Regions from separate parts of the Homo sapiens genome. Here regions 1, 3 and 4 are each linked to region 2. The links are contacts of gene promoters, found by promoter capture Hi-C in blood cells and fetal thymus (Javierre and others, 2016). All regions are on one chromosome and are shown on one strand. Each heading gives the region's core, a stretch centred on a gene start or on the middle of the fragment in contact. The rest is flanking DNA. Distances are from core to core; before and after follow the strand shown.

The links. The method cuts DNA at HindIII sites, captures the fragments that hold promoters and counts their contacts. A CHiCAGO score of 5 or more calls a contact.
Region 1: the fragment with the promoter of ARL1 here is called in contact with the fragment with the promoter of PMCH in region 2 in 3 of 17 cell types (neutrophils, monocytes and total B cells); the score reaches 8.6 in neutrophils.
Region 3: a fragment that was not itself captured here is called in contact with the fragment with the promoter of PMCH in region 2 in 1 of 17 cell types (M0 macrophages); the score reaches 5.9 in M0 macrophages.
Region 4: a fragment that was not itself captured here is called in contact with the fragment with the promoter of PMCH in region 2 in 1 of 17 cell types (M1 macrophages); the score reaches 5.2 in M1 macrophages.

What each region holds. Positions count from the first base shown.
Region 1 is chr12:101,406,497-101,409,470 of GRCh38, forward strand. ARL1 (ARF like GTPase 1) reads right to left here and starts at 1,276. Exons shown (of 6, transcript NM_001177.6): 1 at 1,146-1,276. The coding sequence starts at 1,149. RefSeq lists enhancers at 759-808, 889-938. The HindIII fragment of the contact is 1,758 bases long and covers 730-2,487 here.
Region 2 is chr12:102,196,262-102,199,437 of GRCh38, forward strand. PMCH (pro-melanin concentrating hormone) reads right to left here and starts at 1,572. Exons shown (of 3, transcript NM_002674.4): 1 at 1,261-1,572; 2 at 712-910; 3 at 198-440. The coding sequence starts at 1,509. The coding sequence ends at 391. PARPBP (PARP1 binding protein) reads left to right here. Exons shown (of 11, transcript NM_017915.5): 11 at 1-1,259. The coding sequence ends at 30. The HindIII fragment of the contact is 15,261 bases long and covers 1-3,176 here.
Region 3 is chr12:102,739,869-102,742,940 of GRCh38, forward strand. No RefSeq gene overlaps it. Among named protein-coding and RNA genes, the nearest start is that of LINC00485, 83 kb to the right of the region's middle. The HindIII fragment of the contact is 2,753 bases long and covers 37-2,789 here.
Region 4 is chr12:102,720,037-102,723,033 of GRCh38, forward strand. No RefSeq gene overlaps it. Among named protein-coding and RNA genes, the nearest start is that of LINC00485, 100 kb to the right of the region's middle. RefSeq lists an enhancer at 2,016-2,653. The HindIII fragment of the contact is 682 bases long and covers 1,096-1,777 here.

The DNA of each region.
Region 1 (2,974 bases), core at 26-2,525, 790 kb before region 2:
TTTAAAAATAATAAAGCTCTATCCAATGCATCACAAAATATTCCCAGAAAGCTTCCTGTACACCAAGTATTGTGTAGGATAAAAAGCACAGTCCTTTTCCCATCCAGAGCCATTAGAGAAGATTAAAAACAAGTTACATTAATACAAAAAAAAATAGTTAACATCAGAAGTGATGCCACACTGTTATTTGGCAAAGACATGGCATAACTAAGAGCTGCGAGTTGAAAAATGAACAACACCATGGGCTAGAGAACCTTGGGAAAGTTCAACAGAATAGGTGTGACTTGACAAAGTCCTTTCTACCATTTACAGGTAGAAGAGAGGCGGAACAAAACTGAAGGCGGTTATGGAAGACAGGACAGCGCCTGTGATGCTTGGGAGCAAGAAGTATGCTCCCCAGAAAACTGTGGAGGGATTTAACCAAGCCAAAGAATCTGCACCTTCATTTGGAGGGTGAGAAACGAGTTAAAGAATGTGCACCCTCACTTGGGTTCTAGCGGGGCGAGGGTGTTACCTGATGCTTGTGAGAATGCAGTTCCCTCAATCAGCGGGCCAAGAACCAAGAATAAAGTTTCATTTGCCGACTAGAAATACCCGTATTATTACATGAAACGCTACAGCAGATTAGCAGACAAATGCCAAACTGGCCATAAAACAACATAAGCAACACCTGCTCTCAGGTTTTTCAAACTGACGCCGTCCCAGCGCCCCTGGTAAAGAGAATGATTAAGCTTCCACTCTGGGGCCGCAGCTCATCTTTCACCAAGAAACCTCGGCGAACCTGCGACTGACGCGTTGCCAGCCTCCGCAAGAACAACTCTGCCCAGCAAGTGGAGCTGGGGATGAGGGAAAACTTCATGATAAGGGTAAAGAACTCGAACCCAGGCTCTGCGGACGTCCCCAAGCTGTCCGGGTCCCTGGACCCCGCAGGAATCAAGGGGAACCGAGAGAGGACGGAGGAGAACGCGAGAGGCCGGATCCACCCCTACAGATGAAGATCCAAAGTGAGTCAAGTCCTCCGCGACCCGCCCCCTGAGGAGCTGGCTACTCTAGGGTATCCTGGCCGGCCCCTCTCCTCCTCTGCACCCCAGCCCTCGGCCGCGGCTCCCTCGAGCGCGCCCAGGTGCCCTTCTCGAACCCCTCACCCATGATGAACCCCCTGTCCTCCCTCGCCGATCTTCAGTGATTCCTTGGCCTTCGGCTGCAGCTCCGAGGCGGTTTCCTCGCAAGCCCAGTCAGCCAGCAACTTCCACGTCGGACTCCAGGCGGGGGCGGGAGCGAGGGTCAGCTGCGACTGCGCGCCGGGAACGGTGGCCTGAGCATCCGCGTCGTCGCTTTCGACTCACGGTCCCCGCTCACTGGATGTAGATACCGTGGAGGCCAGAAGAGACGAATAATTCAAAAACCTGAAGTCTCTCCTGCTTGTGTTTTTCTGGACAGAAAGAGCTTCTGAAATAGAGAAATTGGAATTTTTGTTTTAAATTCTGACACCAAAAAGTGGCGAATCTGACAACTGAAAATGCGAGTCGGGCCTCGATGAGTCGTCCCGGTCGAACGCTGGCGCAGGCTGCGGCGTTGCAGAGGACGCGTGTCCCGGAGCGCCCTGCGGGGCCAGCCCAACTCTCCCTAGGTGCTTTCTCCCAGAAAGAAACAAGACTACGTAATAATAATAGGAATGGTACCGCGCTGCCAATGCGGAGCAGCCTTGCACCTGAGGCCAGTAACCAGAGGTTTTTGTCTTCGCTGTGGCCTGCAGGACGAGGACCTCGCCGGCTTTTTTTCTCGCTGACCGAGCAGCTGAGACCGCCTTTCAGGGGTCGGCAGTGTGGACTGGCTGGTCCCGATCGTGGGGACCAGGGACTTATTCCCTCGAGGGTCGACTGTTGGAAGTAATGTAGGTTTTGATAGTGAAGTGTGTGGAGAGGAAGAAGGAAGCACACCTATAGGATGTGGAGAAGGGATTTCCCCTAGAGAAATTTTTAAAGGTTGAGCATGTATGTTTTGAAACTTCCCAAAGATCCATTGAAAAGTGAACCTTCCGGCCGGGCGCGGTGGCTCACGCCTGTAATCCCAGCACTTTGGGAGGCCGAGGCGGGCGGATCACGAGGTCAGGAGATCGAGACCATCGTGGCTAACACGGTGAAACCCCGTCTCTACTAAAAATACAGAAAATTCACCAGGCGTGGTGGCGGGCGCCTGTAGTCCCAGCTACTCAGGAGGCTGAGGCAGGAGAATCACTTGAACTCAGGAGGCAGAAGTTGCAGTGAGTCGAGATCGTGCCACTGCACTCCAGCCTGGGCGACAGAGCGACACTCCGTCTCAAAAAAAAAAAGAGAAAAGTAAACCTTCCATCCCTAATACCCTGTATCTCGGTGATCCCCAGTAGTCACTACTGTTAATACTCTCTTAGGTTTTCTTCCAAATCTTATTAATACCTTTGCATATTATGTTTTTATTTATGGTAGAGATTTTCATCCATTCAACAGAAGCTTATGGACTGCCTTTTTAGTTTATTTTAAAAGAATTTTTCTAGCTTTAAATAAAAATTGTATATATTTACAGTGTACCATGTGATGTTTTCATAGTTGTATATGTTGTGAAATGATAACATACCCATCACCTCACATAGTCGTGTGTGCTTGTGTGTATATGTTTATTTTGTGCTAAGAATATTTAAGGTCGGCCAGGTGTCGTGGCTCAGGCCTGTAATCCCAGCTCTTTGGGAGGCCGAGGCGGGCAGATCCCTTGAGCCCAGGAGTTGGAGTCCAGCCTAGGCAACATAGTGAGACCCCATCTCTACAAAAAAATAAAAAAATTAGCCAGGCACAGTGGCACTTGTAGTCCCAGCTACTTGAGAGGCTGAGATGGGAGGATCACTTGAGCCTGGGAGGCAGAGGTTGCAGTGAGCCAAGATCCCGCCATTATTCTGCTCTCATTCTATGAGTTCCACTTTTTTTGACTCTACATATAAGTG
Region 2 (3,176 bases), core at 322-2,821:
GCAAAGTTAACTCAGTTTTTTAGACTATAAATTTGTGTCTTATATGCTTTAGGTTTATGTATCTATAAACCATTCACCAAAGACATGCTTAATTTTTAAGAGATCAAGGTGTAAATTATGATGATTTATTATTTTGGTCTACAGTGTATGTAAGGTTAGTATGTTAAGCATTGTTTAAAAATACTAGTAAGTCATAATTATGCAGAATTTTCACAAAGTTTAATGCACAGAGAAAGCATATCATTTCAGTTACTGATACATCTTAACACTACTTTCTTTTAAAACAGACATTTAACATACACAAGTTATAGTAGCAGTATGGGCTTCTCCTCCCATTGGCAATTAAATGCTTTTATTTTCTTCTGAAAAGATGATGTGGACCAACAGGTATCAGACTTGCCAACAAGGTCGGTAGACTCTTCCCAGCATACATCTGAGCACTGAAGGAAGAAGAAAGTTTAAATTGTTTAAAGGACTATAATTATCACACAAAATTTATTAAGAAAAAAAGAATGGATCTAGTATAACTAATTCTGAGTAAACCAAAATGATAATAATTAATTGTTGCTATTTAATCCCACATTTTTGGCAGGTGTAATTGAGCCATGGTCTTATTTGATTTTGTTATGATTGCATCCAAATTCACTTTAACTCAGAGTTCTGTTTAATGGTGGTAGGATGTAAGAATTGAATTTTGAAAAGACTACTCACTGTCAAAATCTCTCCTTCCTATAGGAAATTTAGCTGAGTTTTCTTCATCCCCAATTTCTCTCTTTTCTTGTGTTGATTCAGTATTCTGAACTCCATTCTCAGCTGGGAAAGCTACAGATCCTTTTAGTGCAAGATAAGGTTTTATAGCCAGATTCAGTGGCAGACCATGATTTAAGAAATTATGTTTGGAGCCTGTGTTCTGTAAAGAGAAGGTTGATTTGGTTTTTAGCTATCGTATTCGGAGTGGAACTATAATACAATTGTATAATATTCTTGTTGATCAATTCAAAGTTACTCTGCACTGTTTTTGACTTTTTAAAAATACCTTAGATGCAAATTTATAGGAGAAAAAACACTTTCAGATAAGAGGTGTTTGCTGGGATGGAAGAACTACCTGGCATGTAAGAAATATCGTCAGTCGTCCTAATGCATATTGTGACTGTTTGCATATACTTCTGTTTATAAAAGTATCAGTTTTACTTTTCAGAGGATTTGTAAGAATCATTTAAATTTTCATTGAAATAAACGACAAGTCACATTGCCACTTACCTTTGAAACTTTATTTTCCTCTTCGTTCATGAAACTGCTCTCATCATTTTTATATTGTTCCAGGGAAGGAGCAATAACTGATTTTTCTGCAGTGTCTTCCTTCTGAAAGCCTTTCCCCAACCTGAATGTATTAAATACCATGTCATCATCTAAATTTCTTATGGACTTGGATGCTGAAAGTAAAATACCTTGAGAAAACAAAGAAAAAGTTAGTATTAATATATAGGAAGAGAGATTCATTTTTGCCATTCTTAGTTTGATGTTTGCATACAGTCAAACAAGAAAGAAAATGAAAAATTTCTCTGTCAGCCTGCTTGGTAAACGATTCTGTATCTTTATATATTTTCTAGCTTGAATAGAAAGCACTTCAAAGAATTATACTTTTCATCATTTTAGAAATGACTCATTAGATTGAGGCTAACCTTTATGCAGCTGCTAATACCTACATTGTTTTGGTTTTAGTGACACATTGTTTATTTTGAGTGTGAATTTTCTCAGAATCTGACTAAGATCCTTGGTAGAATGCTTTCTGTTGAGTAGATTATAGTCTCTTGAAAATGGGTTGTTATTAAGGAAGACCACAGGACATCAGGCTCTCTCTATATTATTGTTTCCTTTTGTGTATTTTCTGATTAAGTAAAGATATTAAAACTCAAGTTATTTCACTCAAGGATGATAAGGATAAAGTTTTATTTCCTTTTAATCCTGATTAAACTGAAATAATCCTCAAAAGAGACTTTCTTTTATAAATACTTGATATAGTTTTTGGTGATTAAAGTACATATGCCTGTCAGTGTGAACAAAAAGCCATTCATGCTATATCAAAAATTGACCTGTCAGGTGTATTTTATCTCTGCATTTACAAAAGGATAATATGTACAAATATTTATTAATGAATTTAGAAATTAATGAATTAGTCCATGAAAAGAATATTTATGTGCCCATAAACATTACTTTTGGATGATGAGTTTATGTTGTATGACTTTTAATTAAACATTTCAGAGTTAATTTCTAATTTTGACCCCAATGAATAAGATAATACATTCTTTTATATGTCTTCTGGTACATATATGTAAGAATTTTTCTAGAGTATATTTCTCAGTATGGAATTACTGGATCATGGAGTATGTATATGTTCAGCTTTACTAATGCCAAAATGTTTTCCAACATAGTTGTAAGCGATTTGTGCCCTCGATAAGCAGGGTATGAGAATTTCCATTGTTCCATGTCCTAGCTGACTCTTGTGTCTCATTGTCCTTTTAATTTGTATTTTCCTAATTACCAAAGAGGTTAAGTGTCTTCCCATATGTTTCTGAGCCATTTATGTTTCCTCTTATGTTAAATGCTTTTTTTTTTTTTCTTTTTTGGCTTTGTCCATTTTTCTATTGGGTTGTCTTTTTCTAATTTATTTATGGGAGTTCTTTATATATTCTGGATATTAATTGTTAGTTATATATGTTTCAATTATTTTCGCTCAGTTTGTGACATATTTTCAACCCCTCTGGTGTCTTTTGGTGAACCAAACTGATTAATTTTAATGTTTAAATATTTTTCTTTTTTCTTTATGGCAACTACTTTTAATGTGTTGTTTTTTTTTAGAAATCCTTCTCAATCCTTAGATTATTAACGTGTTTTCATATATTTTCTTCTAAAAGTTTAAATATTTTGACTTTCATGTTTAGGTTTGTAATTCATCTGTAATTTTGTGTATGATATAAGATAGAGATGTAATTTTACTTTTTCCAATGTCCTTATATATTTCTTGAAGAAGTCATCCTGTCCCCACTAATCTGCAGTGCCATCTCTACAGTATATCAGATTTCTATATATGTGTGGGCTCCTTTCAGAACGTTCTATTCCACAGCCAAATCTACAGTATTAATATAACTTTAAAATAATTTTTAATATCTGGTCAA
Region 3 (3,072 bases), core at 163-2,662, 540 kb after region 2:
TAGCTGTGATAGGGCTGGACTCTGGAGGTCTGAGGAAGCTTGATTTGATGCTGAAGCCCATTGGAAGGGCAAACCCTAGAGTTGAGGCTGCAGGGCCTCCCCTCCTGCCCTCAGCTCTTATTCTACCCCACCTTCTGCTCGTGGCTCATCTGTCTCTCTCCTTCCCAGGTGGGGAGCTCAGCTGTTCTGAAAAACAAAATAGGAAGTCACTTATATGCCCTGGAGCCCTGCTTTTGTAATTCTGATACAGGGCATTAGACCTAATTTAATTTGAAAATAATATAGTAAGATGAAAGGAAATCCCACTTGAGCTTCTCATTTTAAAAAGAGTTCAAAAAAAGATAAAGTAAGCCTGAGAACCTCAAAGAAGGCCCTCTGGTCAATAGAGGCAGACAGGCCAGATGTTTTTGCCATCTGTGTCTTGTCCCCTCTGACATGGGGCTAGCTGAGGGAGAGAGGCACACAACAGAAGAGCAGGCTAGCTTGCTAATACTGCCCTCTTATTTAGCTCATGGAAATGTCATAACATCTAAGGTCTTACTTTCCCTCTGGATTTGAGGGGAAAACATCTATAGTCCTCTTGAACTCATTTCATGGAAGGAACTTTGTTACAGTGCAAAATTTCACCAAAGATTAATTGAACTTGACATCCTGAATGTCTTTTGCACAATGTACTAAAGTGGATTTTTTTTTTAAAAATGTCAGTATCTGATCCTTGGTGTGTGGTTTTTAGATGTCCAAAGTATTCCCACTTCTCAAATTCCCTTTAAGAAGCTGGAATGCAATGCATTTCTGAGTGTTCTTTATTTCAGTTGAATCCCCACCTTGCTATAGCAGTACTAAATATACTTAAAATCAACAATTCATCACAATAAAAAAAAAATACTGAGTGATATCCAGAGTGGCTGGCCTTCGTTCAACACCAACCATTCTCTAGTTTACGGGAAATTAGGATCACAGGCCAGCTTTACATTAACTGGAAAGTGTACGCTACCATCTTGTGGACAAAATATCAATAACACTGAAATATACTCAAGACAACTTACCATCTCTTTTGTATTACAGTGAACATTTATTTTGTCCTGGGTTCCCACATGCACTCATGGTGACCATTCCATGCAATTTAGAACTTTGGCACTGAATTATCTTTGTTAATAAATTGGGTACAGTTCAACATGAAGAAAAGCGAGCTTACCAAGAAAATTTTGGAACCCAAATACCAGAGACCTGGATCCTCATGTAACCTTCGCCTTTGATTCTTGCCTCTTCAGTTTTCACTTTTCTAAATGCAAAATGCAAGTGTTGATTCTGGTCATCTTATACTGAACACATAGGTTTTTGGTTGGTGTTGACAGGGTTAGATTTTTATAATATCCCGAGGAGTTGAACGTTATGATCCCAAGAGAAATTAATTTATTAACCAGTTGTTCTTTAACTGATACAAAAATTAGTTACTCTTCTCCTGGATGGTTTGCACATGAACATACAGGTGCATATCTCACTTGCTATGGTACCAAACAATGACATCATAGGATGCAGAAGGAGATGGTGTCATCACAGCTGTATGACATGAAAGTTATAGGATCACAGCATCTTAGGGTAGGCAAGGACCATCAAGTTCATTAAATTCAATTACATTTCTAATGCGTGAATCACTTGTATAATATCCAATTGCTTGTTGAATCTCTTCTTCTAGAATATAAGAAAGTACTTGAAAAGGGGACCACGTAAAAGACAGGAAAACAGGAGATTTCTATTCCAAATTTCTAAGGATGCTTTTTTTTATTGCTGTTGTTTGCTAATAGATATTATGACAGTTGGTAACTAGAGAATCTCTAAGGAAGAATCTGTAACTATCAGTCTCCTACCCTTGATGTTGTGGTTCTAGTCTATTTACAGTATGCCAAATAGCTTCTTGCCCACTGGAGCTCAGAAGACCTTCTAAAGTTAGAACTTTCCAGTGTTAAAAGTTTCTACTACAAGCTAAGGGTCTGTTGTATTCCCTCAATTCTTCCTTTAAGCCGTCATATCTAAGTTAGAAACATGTGCAAGTATGTGTGTTTGTGTGTTTGTGTGTTTTTCTGTGTGTGTCCATATACTTGTGTGTGTGTGTGTGTTCTCGGTGTTTTTCTTACTTGTAGGAAAATGATGACTCTCTCCCACCCCCAATTTGGTACTAGTGGCAAAGCATCATTTAAGAGGGCCACACACTGGTCATTTTTGTTATGAGCAAAAAATATAACTGGTCTTACACAGTTTTCCTTCCTGTTAAAAAAAGGAGTAATCTGTATCTTCTCTACCTCCCATAGATATATTTTGACAATTACGATACCACCATCTTTCATTAGCTCATTAATCTAAATATATATGTTTCTATTACAACATTGCTTACATAACAGAGAGCCAATTTCAAAAGAAGTATGTTCACCCCATTTAACTATTCATGCTGAAGCACTGAGTTTTGCAAATAGAAAAGCCCTAAAGCTACAACAAGATGATGACAATGATGACAGCAACAGTAACAGAGACAATACAACACTTAGACAGGCATTTGTTCCCAGTACTGGGTCTGAGGAGGACAGGTGAGAAATAGAAATGTAACTGACTACAAGTGAGTGACTGGACCAGGGATTCCAGAGCAATTCCGCTTGCCTTTGTATTTCAAGGTTCTTGACCCTCCTCTTCAGGAGTATATTATGGGTTATTATTTTTTTTTTTTTCATTTTATCTTGTGGCAAAAGTATAAATGTGGTCTCTGAAGAGAGGTCATTATTTTAAAAGGTCTGAGAAGCTTTAAAAAAGCTGTGATCCCACCCAAATCTCAACTTGAATTGTATCTCCCAGAATTCCCACGTGTTGTGGGAGGGACCCAGGGAAATGTAATTGAATCATGAGGGCCGGTCTTTCCCGTGCTATTCTCGTGATAGTGAATAAGTCTCATGAGATCTAATGGGTTTATCAGGGGTTCCTGCTTTTGCTTCTTCCTCATTTTCTCTTGCTGCTGCCATGTAAGAAGTGCCTTTTTCCTCCTGCCATGATTCTGAGGCATCCCCAGCCATGTGGAACTGTAAG
Region 4 (2,997 bases), core at 187-2,686, 520 kb after region 2:
ATTTAGCCAGAATCAAGGTCCATTAATGACACTAACACCCAGGCCACTGATACCGGATTTAGGACATTTCCACTGGCACCACTGGACTGCAACCATAGGAACTTGATCTTGCTTGACCTATAGTAGATTCTACAGGGTCCCTATTTCTTAGTGTCAGTAGCTCCTAATTTAGAAATTTACCTGGCTTCATTTATTTGGTAGATTCTAGACCTCATGCTTAAAGTTCAGCTGTAAAGGAGGTTGGAGAAATGATATTTGCTTTCCAAAGTGGGAGGTGAGCCATACCTCCTATGAAGACTCATACAAGGAAGGGTATTTTCCAAACATTGGAAGGAATTTCAAATATTAGCCAGCCAAAAAGAACGATTCTGCACAACTAAGTCAAAATTCAAACCCAGATTTCTCTAACAGCAAAATCCAAACTTTCAACCACCATCCTGAAAGGCTCATAATTTGTAGTAAGAAATCCGGCTTCCAAATTTTTAAGACAATAGAGCTCCCAACTGATTCCAGGGGGATAAAAACACTATTATATGTATTTCTAATTCATTCTCCGCCCTCCTTCTCTTTAGAGGTTTTGTCAAGGGTCTGGTGGCATTCCCACTAGGTGGATTGACCAAGAGGTGGCATTATTTTCTTTGACAACTGTGCTGACAGTTTTATAAGTTGAAATAAAAAAGTTCTGTTATCTATTGAGCAGTGTACATTCCTATATGGACAGATGTGATGGTGTGAAGTGAGCTTTGGAATTGGAATGATTACAAAAGGCCCTTTACCTCCCCTTCCTCACCTGACATGTTTCCATTAAAATGGTGCATCTCAGCTGAACTGTTCAGCTGTTCTCTGCCCGTGCTCACTCCGACAGCCCCTCATCCCTTGGGTAGGAGTGGCAAATCAGGATGATGAGAACCTAGGCCATTTCTTCTTACTAATGGGTGTAGTCTCCTCTATTTCTTACTCGCGTTGCCTCTAACCCTTGTTTCCTATCTCCATGTGGAAACACTGACACCTGGGAAATGTCACCATCCTCTTTTAGCTGCTCTCCTCTGGGGTCAGGTAGGAGGTGAGGTGGACTTGTGACTGGCTGGACATGTAAGCTTAGTGGCTAACTGGAGACCCATCCCTTGCTACAGGAGTCTCCAGGTCTGGATCTAGAGAGAGAAGAGTCTCATTTTGTGTTCCTCAATGTAGACAATTTCTACTTTATTGGGTCATGGATAAAGTCAATATTTTGGTTCTCATTTGGCTATTGCGCATGAATTAGTTTTAGGCTCTGAGGAAATTTCAGAGTCAGGACCCTTGGATTCAAATATATCTACTTAATACATTTGGCAAAGCAGTTAACTCTCCTGAGTCTCAGTTTCCTCAGCTATAAAGCAGGAATAGTATCACCTGCTTTGCATATATATAACCACAGTAAGGGCTAAAAGAGATTTCATGTATTAAATGTGTTACATGACCAGGCCTAGGGTAGGTATTCAAACCACATGAGCTATAAAGGAATTTTAGAAATGACAGGGACTATTTACCTTTTAAAAGAATAATAGCTAGTCGAAACTGGTAAAAGAGAAAATCAGTCTAAGTTCTAATATAGTAGCACTTAGAAAAAAATGTTTATTGAATTGCATGTCATTTTCTCCTTTAAAAGTAACTATTATTTATTGAGGACTTACTCTAGACCAAACACTTTACCAATATTATCTCATGTAACCCTCACAAGAAACCTTTGAATTCAGTTCTATTATAAGCAGTCCCATTTTGCGGATGAGAAAACTGAAGCTTAGAGATGTTAAGTAGTGCAGTGGCAGGCCTGGTGGTGGAGGTTGGGCCTGTCTGGATCCAGGATCAGTACTCATAACTACATACTGTCCTGAGGGCACAAAGGAAAATTTGGCTCTTTCCCTCCCATCCCATAATTCACATCCCCAAACGGTGGAATGCGAATGAGGGAAAGTGAACTTTCCCTGTGAGCTGTAGATCAGAATTCAAGCCCAAGTTTGTTAGCTGTAACACCTGCAATCTGAGATTCTAAGCAATATCACCTTTTGTCCTGAGTTCTGTGTAACTTGTCTGCACAGATGGATGTGTTCCAAATTCTGGCACTGAGGTCCATAAGAGAACGGTGAGATGTGGCACTAACTGCTCAGGCCATCTGGATAACCTGTCAGGACTCCTTGGTTTGTTTACTCATCTCAGTTGGCTACATAAGTGGTAAGGAAAGTGGTCAGGGGCCTGGTTTCATTTGGAGAGCTCTGGGCTGTTATCTTGCTAGGTTTTCCCCTTCTTCTGAGTGTGATACCTATTCAGGGACAAAGTTCTGTTGAATAAGCAAGCTGTGTTTGAAGGCAGCCATCCAGGTCCAGAACAGTCCACCTATTCAGAATCTGATCTCTTGACAATGGGGGCTCTCAGGGTTATTGTTATGATAATATGTTCTAACTCTTTCTTCCCAGAGCCAGGTAGGTTCCCATGAAAAGAGTGGAGTTGGCGTTGGATATTGTTTCTAGTAGCAGTTTTCCTGGTATGGGCGACAGGGACTCAGCGGTAAGATCGACTCTTACTAAATGGGTCCTGGCAAGGGCTGAAGGTGGGGAGTGGGTGCAGTGAGGTAAGCACAGGCCTGCTGGGGACCCTGCACAACCATGATGACCACACACAGTGATCCTGGAAGGAAGGATCTACAGGGCTAGGAAGAAACTCTGTCGTGTGTGTGTGTGTGTGTGTGTGTGTGTGTGTGCGTGCGTGCGTGCGTGCGTGATGGAGGAGTCTCATCAGACCTAAAATGGAGCCTAGATCTTAGTTCATGTGATAAAAGAGTTAAGCTCCCTTTAGCCTTGTCTCCCTTTTTTTAGTCCTTAAGTTCTGACTTCAGGCTTTTCAGTGTCTTAAGGTCTGAGTTCATTACGTTGGTAATTGTAATTACCAATGTAATGCCAATATCCTCAATTCACAGTCATTCATTCATTTATTAAAAATGATTGATCAAGTACTTCTCAT